2 separate regions of the Homo sapiens genome follow, and region 2 is linked to region 1. Evidence: promoter capture Hi-C in 16 types of primary human blood cells and fetal thymus (Javierre and others, 2016). All regions are on one chromosome and are shown on one strand. Each heading gives the region's core, a stretch centred on a gene start or on the middle of the fragment in contact. The rest is flanking DNA. Distances are from core to core; before and after follow the strand shown.

Evidence for each region. The method cuts DNA at HindIII sites, captures the fragments that hold promoters and counts their contacts. A CHiCAGO score of 5 or more calls a contact.
Region 2: a contact is called between a fragment that was not itself captured here and the fragment with the promoter of IL21R in region 1, in 1 of 17 cell types (monocytes). The highest score is 5.2, in monocytes.

What each region holds. Positions count from the first base shown.
Region 1 is chr16:27,395,888-27,403,423 of GRCh38, forward strand. IL21R (interleukin 21 receptor) reads left to right here and starts at 6,287. Exons shown (of 9, transcript NM_181078.3): 1 at 6,287-6,731. RefSeq lists enhancers at 6,364-6,906, 6,799-6,918. The HindIII fragment of the contact is 2,346 bases long and covers 5,491-7,536 here.
Region 2 is chr16:28,184,521-28,192,056 of GRCh38, forward strand. The region is part of intron 1 of XPO6 (exportin 6); the gene reads right to left. Among named protein-coding and RNA genes, the nearest start is that of XPO6, 24 kb to the right of the region's middle. RefSeq lists enhancers at 3,152-3,321, 4,406-4,455 and a silencer at 4,848-4,987. The HindIII fragment of the contact is 1,186 bases long and covers 2,569-3,754 here.

The sequences.
Region 1 (7,536 bases), core at 5,037-7,536:
TGTAATCCCAGCTACTTGGGAGGCTGAGGCAGGAGAATCACTTGAACCCATGAGGTTGCAATGAGCTAAGATCATGCCACTGCACTCCAACCTGCACCAGAGTGAGACTCCATCTCAAATAAAAAAGAGAGAGACAGAGAAAGAAGGAAAGAGAGAAAGAAAGAAAGAGAAATAAAGAAAGAAAAACCCGCAGCTAACAAGCTAACATCACACTAAATCAGTGAAAGACTGAAAACTTTTCCACCAAGATCAGGAAAGAGGATGCCCACTTTCACCACTGGTATTCAACATTGCACTGAAAGTTTTAACCAGAACAATTCAGCAAGAAAAAGAAATAAAAGGCATTCAAATGGGAAAAGGAAAGAGTAAAAACTACTGTTATTCGCAGATGACATGATCATATATATGGAAAATTCTAAAGAACGCACAAAGAAATTATTAGAGCTAATAAATTCAGCCAAGTGACAGGGTATAAGATCAACATACAAAAATAAATTGTGTTTGTATATACTAGCAATAAACAACCCCAAAAGGAAATTAAATAAATTCTATTTATAATAGCATCAAAAATAATAAAATACTTAAGAATAAATTTAACCAAGGAGGTGCAAGATTTGTACACTGAACACTATAAAATATTGCTGAAAAAATTAGAAAAGACCTAAATAAAGTTTTTTAAATTCTATGTTAATGTAATGGAAGATTTAACATTGCACTCCTCAAAGTAATTTATAGATTTAATGCAATTCCTATAAAAGTCCCAATGGCCTTTTTTAAAAAATGGAAAAACTGATCCTAAAAATCATGTGAAATTTCAAGGGACCCAGAAAAGCCAAAACAATAAAGTTGGAGGACTCAAATTCCCATTTTTAAAATTTACTGCAGAGCCAAGATTGTGCCATTGCATTCCAGCCTGGGCAACAAGAGCGAAACTCTGTCTCAAAACAACACAAAAACAAAAACAAAACAAAACAAAACTTACTGCAGAGCTACAGTAATCAAAACAGTGTGATAATCCTGGCACAAGGCTAGACATATAGATCAATGGAATTGAACTTAGAGTTCAGAAATAAACCCATGAATCTATAGTCAATTTTTTTTCATTTTTTTTGCATTAAAGCACACTATCAACAAAGTGAAAAGACAGCCACAGAATGGGAAAAATATTTGTAATTCATATATCTGATAAAGGTGAGTTTCCAGAATATACAAAGAACTCTTAAAATTCAACAACAAATGATGAACAATCAAATTTAAAAATTGGCAAGGAGCTGGGCACGGTGGCTTATGCCTGTAATCCCAGCACTTTGGGAGACTGAGGTGGGCGGATCACCTGAGGTTAAGGGTTCGAGACCAGCCTGGTCAACATGGTGAAAACCCGTCTCTACTAAAAACACAAAAATTAGCTGGATATGGTGGCACACGTTTGTAAGCCCAGCTACTCGGGAGGCCGAGGCACAAGAATCGCTTGAACCCAGGAGGTAGAGGTTTCAGTGAGCCAAGATCACACCACTGCACTCCAGTGTGGGAGACAGATCAAGACTCTGTCTAAAAAAAAAATAAAATAAATAAAATTTGGCAAGGGACTTCAATAGACATTACTCCAAACAAGATATGCAAATGACTACCAAGCACATGAAAAGATGCTTACCATCATTAGCCATTAGGGAAATGCAAATCAAAACCACAATGAGATACCACTTCACATCCGCTAGGATGGCTATAATAAAAACCAACAGAAAATACATATTGTCTGCTGGGTGCGGTGGCTCACGCCTGTAATCCCAGCACTTTGGGAGGCCGAGGCGGGCGCATCACGAGGTCAGGAGATCGAGACCATCCTGGCTAACACGGTGAAACCCCGTCTCTACAAAAGAAAATACAAAAAATTAGCCAGGCGTGGTGGCAGGCACCTGTAGTCCCAGCTACTCGGGAAGCTGAGGCAGGAGAATGGCGTGAACCCGGGAGGCGGAGCTTGCAGTGAGCCGAGATCGCGCCACTGCACTCCAGCCTGGGCGACAGACCGAGACTCCATCTCAAAAAAAAAAAAAAAAAGAAAAAAAAAAAAAAGAAAATACATATTGTCAAGGACGTAGAGAAATGGGAACCTTCAGACATTGCTGGTGGGAATATAATACAGGGCAGCTGCTGTGAAAAACAGTTTGTCAGTTTCTTAATAAGTTAAACTTATTTAAAAGTTAATAAGTTAAACTACCTTTAACTCAACAAGTCTCCTTCTGGGTATATATCCAAAAGATTTGAAAATGCATGTCTACACAAAGACTCGCATGCAAGTGTTCATAGCATGCTTGTTTGTAGTAAAGGAAAAAGTGGACATACTCCAAATGTCCATCATCTCATGAAAGGATAAATGAATGTGGCATATCTATGCAATGTAATATTCTTCAGCAATAAAAATCAATTTTTATTTTTTATTTTTTTGAGATGGAGTTTCGCTCTGTCTCCCAGGCTGGAGGGCAGTGGCACTAGCTCTGCTCACTGCAACCTCCACTTCCCGTGTTCAAGCAATTCTCCTGCCTCAGCCTCCTGAGTAGCTAGGGCTACAGGTGCACGTCACCATACCTAACTAATTTTTGTATTTTTAGTAGAACAGGGTTTCACCATGTTGGCCAGGCTGGTCTCAATCTCCCGGCGTGTGCAACCACACCAGGCTAATTATTGTATTTTTTAGTAGAGGCGGGGTTTTACCATGTTGTCCAAGCTGGTCTCGAACTCCTGATCTCAAGTGATCCGCCCACCTTGGCCTCCCAAAGTGTTGAGATTACAGGCATGAGCCACCGCGCCTGGCCTAAAAATGGATTTTTAGATATGTGGTGCCAACACACGCTACAACGTGGTTGAACCCCAAACACGCGATGCTGAAAGAAACTAAACACAAAAGACAACATATTGATATGAGATGCCTAGGAAAAAAAAAAAGCAAAATCAGTAGAGGCATAAAGTAGACGAGTGGCCCTGGGAATGGGAATGGAGATTGACTATAAGCAGGCACAAGGAACCTTTCAGGAGTGATGGGATTGTTTTAAAATTGGATCGTGGTTATAATTGCACAATTCGATAAATTCACTAAAAATCATTGAACTGTACATTTACAGTGGCTTGATTTTATGTTATGTAAAACATAGCTAAATAAAGCTCTTAAAATAAAAATAAAAAAGAGGAAATGGGTTGAGGGAGGGGGTGTGTCAATTATTTTTTCCCAGGAGGCCCCTTGGCTGAAATGCAAATGTGACCACTTCCTCCCCGCTGACCAGCTATCAGCACTGAGGCATGGTTGGAGGGCCGCTGAGATCCTATGGCACCTTCCTTCCAAGGGTATAGAGGCCATACTTATGAGACATTTACAGACCCAGAGGAACCCCTCAAGGGACCACATGTCTATTTCTGAGGGGACTCATGTTTACCCCAGTGGACATGGGCCTGGCAGCTCCAAATGCATCTACTTTTTAAGCACCAAGGGACTGTGACCCCTGCTGATCCCACCCATTCCCCAACTCCTGGCCTGAACTGAAAATGTAAACTGGATTAAGCCACTCTTAAGATGAAACCCTCCAATGATGACTTCCCATTTCCTTTGGAACAATCTACCTTCCTCACCCAAAACCGTGAGGTCCCATGTGGTGTAGATGTGTGATTTCCGTGCCTTCACCTTCTACTATTCCTCCATTTGCTCACTGTATTACGCCATGCTGTTCTCAAGTTCCTGGAGCCAGCCACATTCTTTCCTACCTCAGTGCCTTTGCACTTGCAGATCCTTCTGCCGATAATGTTCTTCCCATGGCTGGGCACTTCTTAGCACCTAGTGTACCCCCAAATGTCACAACCTTGATCTCTCATTGGTTTTCTATGACATTTAGTACAGTTTACATTGAGTTTGTCTGTTACTTCTTTTTGTCTAACTCTCCCTACTAGAATATAGGCTCCATGGGGGCTGTCACTGTGTGTATATTTCTGTGGGCTAGCCCCAGGATGTAGCCAAGCTGCGTGATTTTGGACAAGTCACTTAACCTCTCTGAGCCTGCTCAATAAATATTAGGGGGAGGAAGCAAGGAATGGCTGGGTGGGTGGGTGCAGAGAAGAATGAATGGGTGGATAGGTAGGTGGGTGGGTAGAAAGCAGGTAGATAAAGAAGGCAGGCAGGAGGGAGGGAGGAGAAATTGAATATCCTTGTTTTCATACACACCCCAGAGCAGTGTAGTGAGTTAAGAGTGCGGGCTCTGGAGCCCAAATGACTGAGTTCAAATCCCAACTCTGGCACTCATCAGCTGTGTGACCTTGGACAAGTCACTTAACCTCTCTGAGCCTCAGTTTCCTCATCTGTAAAACAGGGACGATGATGATGATGATGATAACTATCTTCTAGACTCATTCTTTTTCATTTTGGGGATTTTATTTTTGAAGACAGAGTCTTGCTCTGTTGCCCAGGCTTGAGTGCAGCACTACAGTCATAGCTCACTGCAGCCTTCAGCTCCTTGGCTCAAGTGGTCCTCCCACCTCAGCCTCCAGAGTAGCTGGGACTACAGGCGTGCACCACCATGACTGTCTAATTTTTAAATTTTTTTATAGAGACAGGGTCTTGCTATGTTGCCCAGACTGGTCTTGAACTCCTAGCCTCAATCGATCCTCCCACCTCAGCCTCCCAAAATGATGGAATTATAGGTGTGCACCGCTGCACACAGCCTTCTCGAGTATTTCTGAGGTTTAAATGAGAGGGTGCATCTTTAAAGTCCTTAAAACCCTGGCACACAATGAGCTTTCAGCAAATATTAGCTCTTTTTACTGTCTCTTCTCCTGATCTTTCAACCACTACAAATTTCAGTGCATGTTATCAGAGAATTCACCCCGAAGATCAAGAGAAAGAAAAACAAAAGCTGGTGTCTTCCCAAGGTTCGTTCTCCAGAGAACACGACACACTTCGGTAGCTGGGAAGAGCTCTACAGGGCCAGGATCCCTCAAATCAACCACAGGGGAATTTGTACCAAGTTCCTCAAAAACAGCTAGAAAAAAAAAGAAAGAAAGAATAGCAAGACGCTTTCTCTTTTTTCTCTGGAGTGGTCACGAAAGTCAACAGCAAGTTGATTCCCAAAAATGAGTCAGCAGGGAGAGCTACAAATTGCATCTTGTTATCAAAACAGCATAAAATAGCCTCCCCCAACTGTGGGACATTTCATCCTGGTATGGCCCCGTTTTCACAGCCTGGTATAAGCTTAGGAATCAAACACACCCAGGTTCAAATCCCAGCTCTAATTCTTCTTGGCTTGTGTGACGTTTCACTCCTCTGGGCCTCAGTCTCTCCATCTGTAAAATGGGACTAATCTTGTCTGCCTCACACTTTGTGGGATAAAGTGAGATCATGTAGGCACCAAAGTAATTCGAGGTGGTGGTGATGGCAGTGGTAGTGGTGGTGGTGGTAGCGGTGGTGGTGGTAGCAATTCTCTTGCTCTCCTTTGGAGACTGCACTAGGCATTAAGCTTGTTACATTTTGTCTCCTGGTTTCTTGAATGTCTTCCAGAAACATCTGACCCTCTCATGGGCCTCTGGCATGTTAGCAAGATGAAAACTCTCTTGAGAATTTCTTTTCTCTATTTTCTTCTTGAATTCTCATGTGTTAATGTCTGCCCTCTTCCTCATAGCTAGGTGCCCCCATTTGACAGATGGGCAAAGTGAGGCATTCAGAGAGGTGATGTGACGTGCCCAAGGGGTCCTGCTCCCTGGAGCTCTGCAGCAGGAGACTGGATCCAAAGGAAATGGAGGCAGAGAGGCATGGGGGTCAAGCCAGAGCAGAGGGTCCCAAGCTCAGACCCTATTAGGCAGGTAAGGCTCAGGAATAAGAAACAGGCTGGTTTGCAAAGTCTGAAAAAGGGGCTTCCGTGGGACCTTGGGCAAGGTTCTGGTCCTTCTCTCTGTGCTGAGGGGCTGGAGTCGGCCACTGAGGACTCTGGGTCCACGGGTGAAACTGTGCCACATCTTCACACCTCTGGCCTCAGTTTCCATATCTGTGCAATGTGGTGGCTCCAGGAGGCACTGCCTGCCTCATGGGTTATGACTGAGAGGCCTGTGGGGATGATGTCACAGGTCCCTAAGAGGGAAGTGTCACCCCGATGGCCCCAAATGTCTTACTTGCAGGTGACCTTTGGTGACAGTGGGTGCCTGCTGTGGGGCCAGGCCCCCTCCCACCTCTTTCTCACTCCCTCCCAGGAGGAGCCCAGCTGCGGGTGGGCGGGGCTGGCGGGGAGCGGCTCACCACATCCTCCTCTTCCTCCCCACTCTGCACATGCGGCTGGGTGGCAGCCAGCGGCCTCAGACAGACCCACTGGCGTCTCTCTGCTGAGTGACCGTAAGCTCGGCGTCTGGCCCTCTGCCTGCCTCTCCCTGAGTGTGGCTGACAGCCACGCAGCTGTGTCTGTCTGTCTGCGGCCCGTGCATCCCTGCTGCGGCCGCCTGGTACCTTCCTTGCCGTCTCTTTCCTCTGTCTGCTGCTCTGTGGGACACCTGCCTGGAGGCCCAGCTGCCCGTCATCAGAGTGACAGGTCTTATGACAGCCTGATTGGTGACTCGGGCTGGGTGTGGATTCTCACCCCAGGCCTCTGCCTGCTTTCTCAGACCCTCATCTGTCACCCCCACGCTGAACCCAGCTGCCACCCCCAGAAGCCCATCAGACTGCCCCCAGCACACGGAATGGATTTCTGAGAAAGAAGCCGAAACAGAAGGTAATTCCAGCCCTGGTTTTCTGCTGGGACCAGGGTGCCTTCTCTGCCCAGGAGGGACTGTTCCCTGCCTGCTGCATCTAGTGTCACAGTGGGAGGGCTCGGAGGACTGTGCCCAAGTCACAATTGGGGACACTGAGGCAAAGAAGATTCATGCAGTGAGGCTGGGCAGAAATGAGGTTGGGGTCTCTTGTTCAGCACAGCTTAGGGGCCCAGCAGCAGGGATGTGGCTGAGACGACCCTCTATCTTGAAAACCAGCCTCCAAAATGTAGCGGGCTGGGGAAGGAAAGCCAGTTTCAAGCCAAACATAACATGTCAATCACCCGATTCTGGGCGGCTGAGTCGGGAGGTGACGGGCATGGGTGTAGAGCCTGATGGGACCCATTCTGTGTCAGTTTCTATGTCTTACCACCTTGATTCCACCCAGTCATTCAAAACAATGGCTGGTGTGCCCATTTCGCAGATGAGGCAATGAGGCTGCGAGAGGTAGAGTGATTTTCCCTCGGTGACTCAACTGGGACGTAGCAGGTCGGGCAGTCAAGCCAGGTGACCCCATGAGCTGTCGCTGCATCTTTCTCATGAAGCACGGGGAACGGGTCGGATGGTAAGAGGCCAACCCAGTTCCCTGTGCATGTGGAGGAGAGGAGGGTGGGGAGGTCAGTGGAGGCTGAGCCTTGAAGGATGGGAAAGGAAGAACATTCCTGGTGGAGGAGCCCTGGGGAGCGGGAACTTAGGACTTGCCGCAGGAATGACGTCTCTGCTCAGTGAAGGCAGAAGACCAGGTGCGGGACATTCAAAGCCAGGAGG
Region 2 (7,536 bases), core at 1,912-4,411, 790 kb after region 1:
AAGCCACAAAATAGGAGCTATCTGCAATATGGAAACAGGGAACTCATATCAGAGCATAAAATAACTTCAACAAATCAGTAAAAAAAAAAAAAAAGACAAAGGACTTCAATTTTTTTGGACAGGCAAATAATTAATTATAAAAGAGGGTATTCAAAAAGCCTATAAATAAGTGTTCAGCCTCATTAGTTATCAGGAAAATACAAATTTAAAATAAGATAGTGCTACACATCTACCAGAAAGGCTAAAATTTAAACGACTGACAATAATAAGTGTTGATGAGGAGGCTGAGCAACCAGCACATGCATGTACTGCTGGTGGGAGTATACACTGGTACAACCACTCTAGAAAACTGACAGCTAAACATATGCATATCTTATGACCCTGCAATTCTACTCCTTGATATATACCCAACAGAAATTTTTACATGTATACCAAACGAAAACATACACAAATGTTCACAGCACTATTATACACAATACCCAAAAAGTCAAAAGAACCCAAATATCCGTCACCACTGGAATGGATGAATAGTGATTTCTTGATAGAGGAGAATATTATAAGACAACAGGAATTAATATTGCTACATGCAACAACACAGATGAATCTCACAAACACAATGTAGAGTGAAAGAAACCAAAACACAACCTTTCATTATTCACTTTATATTAATTTTAACAACAACAACAAAAAAAAGCCAGGCATAGTGGCCCACATCTATAATTCCAGCTACTTGGGGGGCTGAGGCAAGAGGATCACTCGAGCCCAGGAGTTCAAGGCTGCAGTGAGGTATGATTGCACCAATGCACTCTAGCCTGGGCAACAGAGCAAGACCTTGCCTCTTAAAAAATAATAATAATAATAATTTAAATAAGTAAAACTTATCTATGGTGTTATAATCAGACTAGTGGTTACCTTGGAGGAGGAGGGATTCTGGTAATAGTCTATTTCTTTATCTGAGTGTTAGTTACACAAAGATGATCAACTTTACAATTTATCTGCTTCTGTGTAAATATATACTGCAATTTTAAACACTTAATGTTTTAAAATCCTCATTTCTAAAGTCCAGGTTGGTGTTATCAGACTCTTTAGAAACTGTATTTTAGCTCTATCAGCACAACTATGGCTCTGGGGACTGGCAATAAGCCTGCAGGTAACAGTGTGAGCATGAGGCTCCTGATTTCTAGGAACCATCTCTTGTCTTCAGAGCTGCCAGGATGGCAGCACAAGGTATTACAACCCCATAAGCCTATGCTTCCCCAAGAGTTACTTGGCTCACCTCAATAGCAAATGGCACATACACTTAAAATCCTTGGGCAGGATGACGAATTAAGCTTGGCTCAGAATATACTCTTGGAGAGCTCTGCATAGATCTAAAACAAACCCAAGTTTTCTGTTCCAGAAACAGTTAAAACTGCAAAGGTGATAAGCTTGCAACTGTGCCTGCCCTGACTTTATCTGCTCCTTTTACTTTGCTGCTCATGGGTCAGCAGTTCAGAGATCTATGCCATTGACTCATTTATTAAGGGACTACTAAGTCCACCAAGACCCATAATCACCTAAAAAAATTAAAACTTGGAAGAAGCAGAAGGGTGACATAATTTGAGATCGCCTTTGCTTCTTCCCCATATTCTCCATCCACAGCAAACACCATCAGGTCTGCGGACTGTTGCTTCTCACTCTTTTGCAGGTTTGTACCTTCTCCCTCACCACTATTTCTACGGAGCCCTAATCATCTCCTGCCTACGTTACTATAATTGCTTTTACCTGGTTTCCAGGTTTTCCAATTCCAATCCAAACAGTACTTTACCGCCAGATAAATTCTCTTAAATATAGATTTTTCTGCCCCAGTTATTCTTTTTTTTTTTTTTTTTGCTAAAGACATGGTCTCTGTTGCCAGGCTAGAGTTCAGTGGCATGATCCTAGTTCACTGAGGCCTCAAACTCCTTGGCTCAAGCAATCCTCCTGCCTCAGCTTCAAATAGCTGAGACTACAGGCACATGCCACCACATCTGGCTTTTATTTTCATTTTTGTAGAGCCTGGGTCTTGCTCTGTTGCCGAGGTTGGGGTTGAACACCTGACTTCAAGTGATCCTCCCACCTTGGCCTCCCAAAATGCTGGGATCACAGGTGGGAGCCTCTGCATTCAGCCTAATTTTTTTTTTTTTTTAGAGACAGAGTGTTGCTGTATCACCCCAGACTGGAGTGCAGTGGAACAATCACAGCTCACTGCAGCCTCAAACCCCTGGGCTCAGGCGATCCTCCCCACTTCAGCCTCCTGAGAAGCTGAGACTATAGGCACATGCCATCACACCGCTCCAATTATTCTAAACCTAGCTTTAATTCTGGAGTGACTAAGCAACTCAGCTATTTGTTGGAGAAATGAGAATTCAATACTCACTAAGTAACTGATATTGCTTAAATTAAGCCCCTGGGATACAATGATGAGTAAGACGGTCCCTAACTTCAAAGAACTGAAGGTGGCCTAGCAGTTACATCCTGTAGTCCTGGCGTACATATAAACAGCCTCAGAAGACCAAAGAGAAAACTAACTCTATCTGAAGGAAAGAAAGCTTCAAAGGGGTGATTTGGGTTTTGAAGAGCAAGGAAGTTTACTAGGAGGATAAGAAGGAAAGCATGCCTGATTCAATGTCACTCGCCATAGGAAGCCACTCCAATCTGAACACTCATGGTCTCATAAGCGAGTACCTAGCCCCATCCTGCATTTGCTTCTGAGACTGCAATTTATAGTTTAACCTTCATGAATTTTCCTACACAGATTACAGTACAGATCAGGTCATTTACATCTTGTGTCTTTGTCTTGTAATCAGTACTACAGAATTTTGCCCTTGGTGCTGTTCTCTGGTCATTTCAGAATGGCAAAAGTTTTAAAATGCAGGCTCTAGGGTCAGGTTCCCCAAGTTTGAATCCAAATGTGCAGCTTGACCTTGGCCTAGTTATTTAATGTGTCACTGTTTCTTCTTGTGCACAAGTGGGGACAGTAAAAGTACCTAACATATTGGGTCATTCTGAGAATTAAATAAAATGTAAAATACATAGTAAACACAATGTCAGGCATGAAGTGTGGGCTGAAAGTCACTGTTCATACGTCATAGATATTAGGCTTCTCTACCCAGAACATCAACTGTCTGGAAAGATGCTCTATCTAGTATGTCTGTATTTTCTACAATATCTACCATGGGCTGGTGGCTCAACTATCTTAAAGACCAAATTCAAGACAGTAAAAGGAACAAGAAAACTGTTGGTATCACTTTCAGTTTCTCAAGAATACTGGTAATTCCTCCAAATTGAAGATACATGTGACTCTTTACATTTTCCCCTTTAAGGGTTCTGACCATAAGCAGACTTCTGCTCACACGCAGATTCAATCTGTGTTGAAAAACAGGAGACTGCTAACACTGAGACTGAAGGTGGATAATAAGGTGCTTTTCCCTAAGATGTAGCAGCTAGAAGGTGGTTTCCTCAAACCCTGATTAAATCTGTAATATGTTACCTAATGGCCTCTAAAACAACCCCCTCTAAGCATAACCTTTTTACAAAATTAATCTTGGGGAATAATGACTATTTTTTAAATTTTTTTTAAATAAAGATGGGGTCTTGCTATGTTGCCCAAGCTAGTCTTAAAACCCCCAGGTTCAAGCAATCCTCCCACCTATGCCTCTCAAAGTTCTGGGATTACAGGCATGGGCCAACATGCCCAGCCAAAAATGACTATTTTTTAAAGACACTTCTATTAAGCTTTTTGCCATCCTTTCCCAGAGCCTCATTTTGTATAATCTACTAGGAGGTGAATCATATGGGTCTCCTATATTCAGGTTCATGGGCTCATAGATACCAAACCTCAACAAAATGAGGACTAGTATCCCAGAGTGCCATTCAAATATCCCTGTGGCATATCTAGAACAGTGTCATTACCCTATTTGCTGTATATAAAGGTTTCGAAGAAAAGTGATTCTATCCCTGCTGCCAACGAAGGTTAAAAAGTATGCAAAACATATCCGGTGTGTTACAACACATGCGATTAGCAAAGATATTCAAACTCATGTAAACTTTCTCTGAAAGCTAACAGGATTACCATAGATGTCTAAACTCTCAGATCATCACTCTCACTTCCCTACACCCTTCACCACTGCAAAAAAAAAAAAAAAAAAAAAAAAAAAAGGAGAGAAAAAAATCTTTGACCTGTAGGCCTGCACACAAGTATGAGATGAAATACTAAGCTTAAAATAACATGCATGGGAACCAGGGCGAGTGACATCTACCTATCCCCCTCCTGAAGTCATTCAGCTCAAAAAGCCAGAAAGCTAGAAAAGTGCATCAAGGAAGCCCCAGTCAGGAGAACGACATTCAGAACAATGCTTCCTCCCATCTCTCCCTCCGGTCACTACTGCTCTTTTGCATCCCAGCCCGTAGATATTTTCCTTTTCCTTTTGTTTTCTGGAGGCACAGGTCTTGCTCTGTCGCCCAGGCTGGAGTACAGTGGCACAAACTCTATCTCCCGGGCTCAAGCTATCCTTCTACCTCAGCCTCCCAAGTAGCTGGGACCACAGCTGCACACCACCACATCCAGCTGATTTTTGTATTTTTTGTAGAGCTGGGGTTTCGCCATGTTGCCCAGGCTGGTCTTAAACTCCAGGGCTCAAGCGATCCGCCTGCCTCAGCCTCCAAAAGTGCTGGGATTAGAGGCACGAGCCACCGCGCCCAGCTGACACTTCCTTTAAAAAAAAAAAAAAAAAGCACAGCATATTGAAGTGGAAATCTCACTTTATTCCTCTATTTAAAAAAAAGAAAAAGTGGTGAAGCCCACTGACCCTCCACAGTCTAGCAGTCAGCAGGGCAATCAGGGAAGCCCAGAGACACTGGATGACTCGCTCAAAGACACACAGCCAGTGAGCAGCCAGCCAGAATCTCAGCCCCAGCCACACCCATGTGAGTTCCTTTCCTTAGCCTGACTGTGATAGGACAGCGTAAGGCCAAGCAGAGGGAAGACCGAGGTACAAATATACATTGATGTAATTCATTCTAAACATTGTGTACAAGAGTTGCAGGAGAAAAAAAAATGTCTTCTACTGAAGCAAACAGACAACCACAGCATGTAACAGGACTGCTAAGGCTGGGCAGGCGCGCCCACCCCTCTATTAACACAATCTGGAACAAAGTCATCCCCTCGCATGAGAAAGGCTTCTTGTTTTCTTGTCTGCAGCTTAGATCTAGACATAACTTTGCACAATATCTTCACACAGACATTTAATATTTGATTAAAACATACACTCTGGCTGCATCTAAACATAATTTTAGTCATTAAAAAGCACTTTTCTGCTTTAATCTAAAACTACCATAAAGTTGATCGATGGCAGAACATTCCTCTATTATTTCTTGGGTTTGCACAAAGTGCCCAGTCAGATTGTCTGTCTCTTCCTCTAATTACTGCTGAGGACCAAGAGTTAGAAGCAAGATGACTGCCGGGTGTCTGGGCCAGGAAGTTCAACTGATCCCACTGTGGCAGTGATAACATGGAAGCAGCATATTTTCTCCCCATGGAGACCAGTTAGAGGAAACATCTTTGTATACAGAGGATGGTACGTTTTATGCTGGGAAACCTCATCCACATAGTATTGGAGAATGCATAAAAACAAGACTCATCAATCAGCTACCAATGGAGAGGTGCACCAGTTTCTTTCTTTATTTTTTTTTTTTTTTGAGACTGAGTTTAGCTCTATCGCCCAGCTGGAGTGCAGTGGCACAATCTCAGCTCACTGCAACCTCCACCTCCCAGGTTCAAGCAATTCTCGTGTCTCAGCCTCCCAAGGAGCTCGGATTACAGGTGCCCGCCACCACACCTGGCTAATTTTTTTTGAATTTTTATTAGAGACAAGACTTCATCATGTTGGCCAGGCTGGTCTTGAACTCTTGACCTCAAGCGATACCGCCCACCTCGGCCTCCCAAAGTGCTGGGATTACAGGCCTGAGCCAGCGTGCCCAGCCTGGTTTCAATAATTTTAAACAACAAATCTAAAGACTAAAGAGCATGACAAGTAAATGCTACACCTGACCACAGATTGATCCTGGACTGGAGGGAAAAAATGCTATGAAAGGCATGACTGAGCCAATTGACAAAACTGGAATACAGGTGGTAGTAGGTTAGATCAAAGTACTGAATCAATGTTCTATTAACCGAAGATGGTAACTGTACCATAGTCATGTGGGAGAATGCCCCTATTAAGAAATATATGATATAGGGCAATGGACCATGACAAAGGCAACTTACTCTAAAATTGTTCAGAAAAAAATACATGTGTGTGTGAATGTACATGCATGTACATGCATATATGTCTATATATACATATAAAGAGGGAACGTGCAAATAACGTTAACAGGACAAAATATTAACGGTAGGTGAGTTTGGGTAAAGGGTATGAGAGATCTTTGTATAACTTATTCCTTGAAATCTTTCTATTTGAAATCATTTTGAAATAAACAGTTTTTAAAATACCATCCACTGGCCGGTACCCTCTACCTTGCCCCTGGCTGCTCCCAGCTAGCTAGGCATATGGGAAAGAGAAATGGAGAAAAGGATACAATAGGAAAGAATTATTCTCTCAGGTGCCAGGTTTATTTTCACCACAGTTACACAGCCTAGACATTAAAATGTTTGCATCTACTGGTTGGGCAACAAACCATATCCACTAGGAGCTAAAATACATATATTTTATATACTTATTTATATTCCAGTCAGAAGGCTTAATTAAACAGCCAAAAAAAGTAAATGATAAAAATAGTTATTCTGCAGAAACTGTCTAAAGTAAGTAATACAGCCAAGAGTAGGCTCTGTCTTCACAGTCCCATCTGCTTCCCTTTCCCAGGTACATATCCCAGGAGGATGGATGTTTATATCTGCATGCCTAGTATTAAACTCAAAAGATACTTACTGGGCACATTAACACAAGGCAAGCTACCAAGAAATGCTAAAACACGATCACAGAATCTTAAGACAGAAGTAAACAAACCCCAGAGCACAGCAAGTCCAATCTTGTTCTACAATGAGGAAAATGAAGCTGAGAGAGAGCATCCTCCCAAAGTCAGCTAGCTGTGGGTCAAGTGAAGACAGGGGCAGGCCACCAGAGCTCTTGCCCAGTGACAGCTCCTACACCCCTTGAGGAAGCACAGAGGAGTTCTGCTCCAAGGGTTTTAAGGATGATGAATGAGCTGGCTTTACCTGGCATTGGATGACATCAGGTAATGAATGAGTATGAAACTGACGAACCACTATAAAAGCATGCTGCAAATCTAACATGATGATTAACGCTACTGCTCAGGTGAGTAATTTCATTTCAGCTGCTATTACCACCTGTGCTATTTAAGAGCAAGTCTCTTGTAAAACCACCTTCATCCTGAATTATTCCCAGGTAGACTTGGCATTTTAAATAAGTTAACATAATGGCTGGGCGCGGTGGCTCACGCCTGTAATCCCAGCACTGTGGGAGGCTGAGGCAGGCAGATCACCTGAGGTCAGGAGTT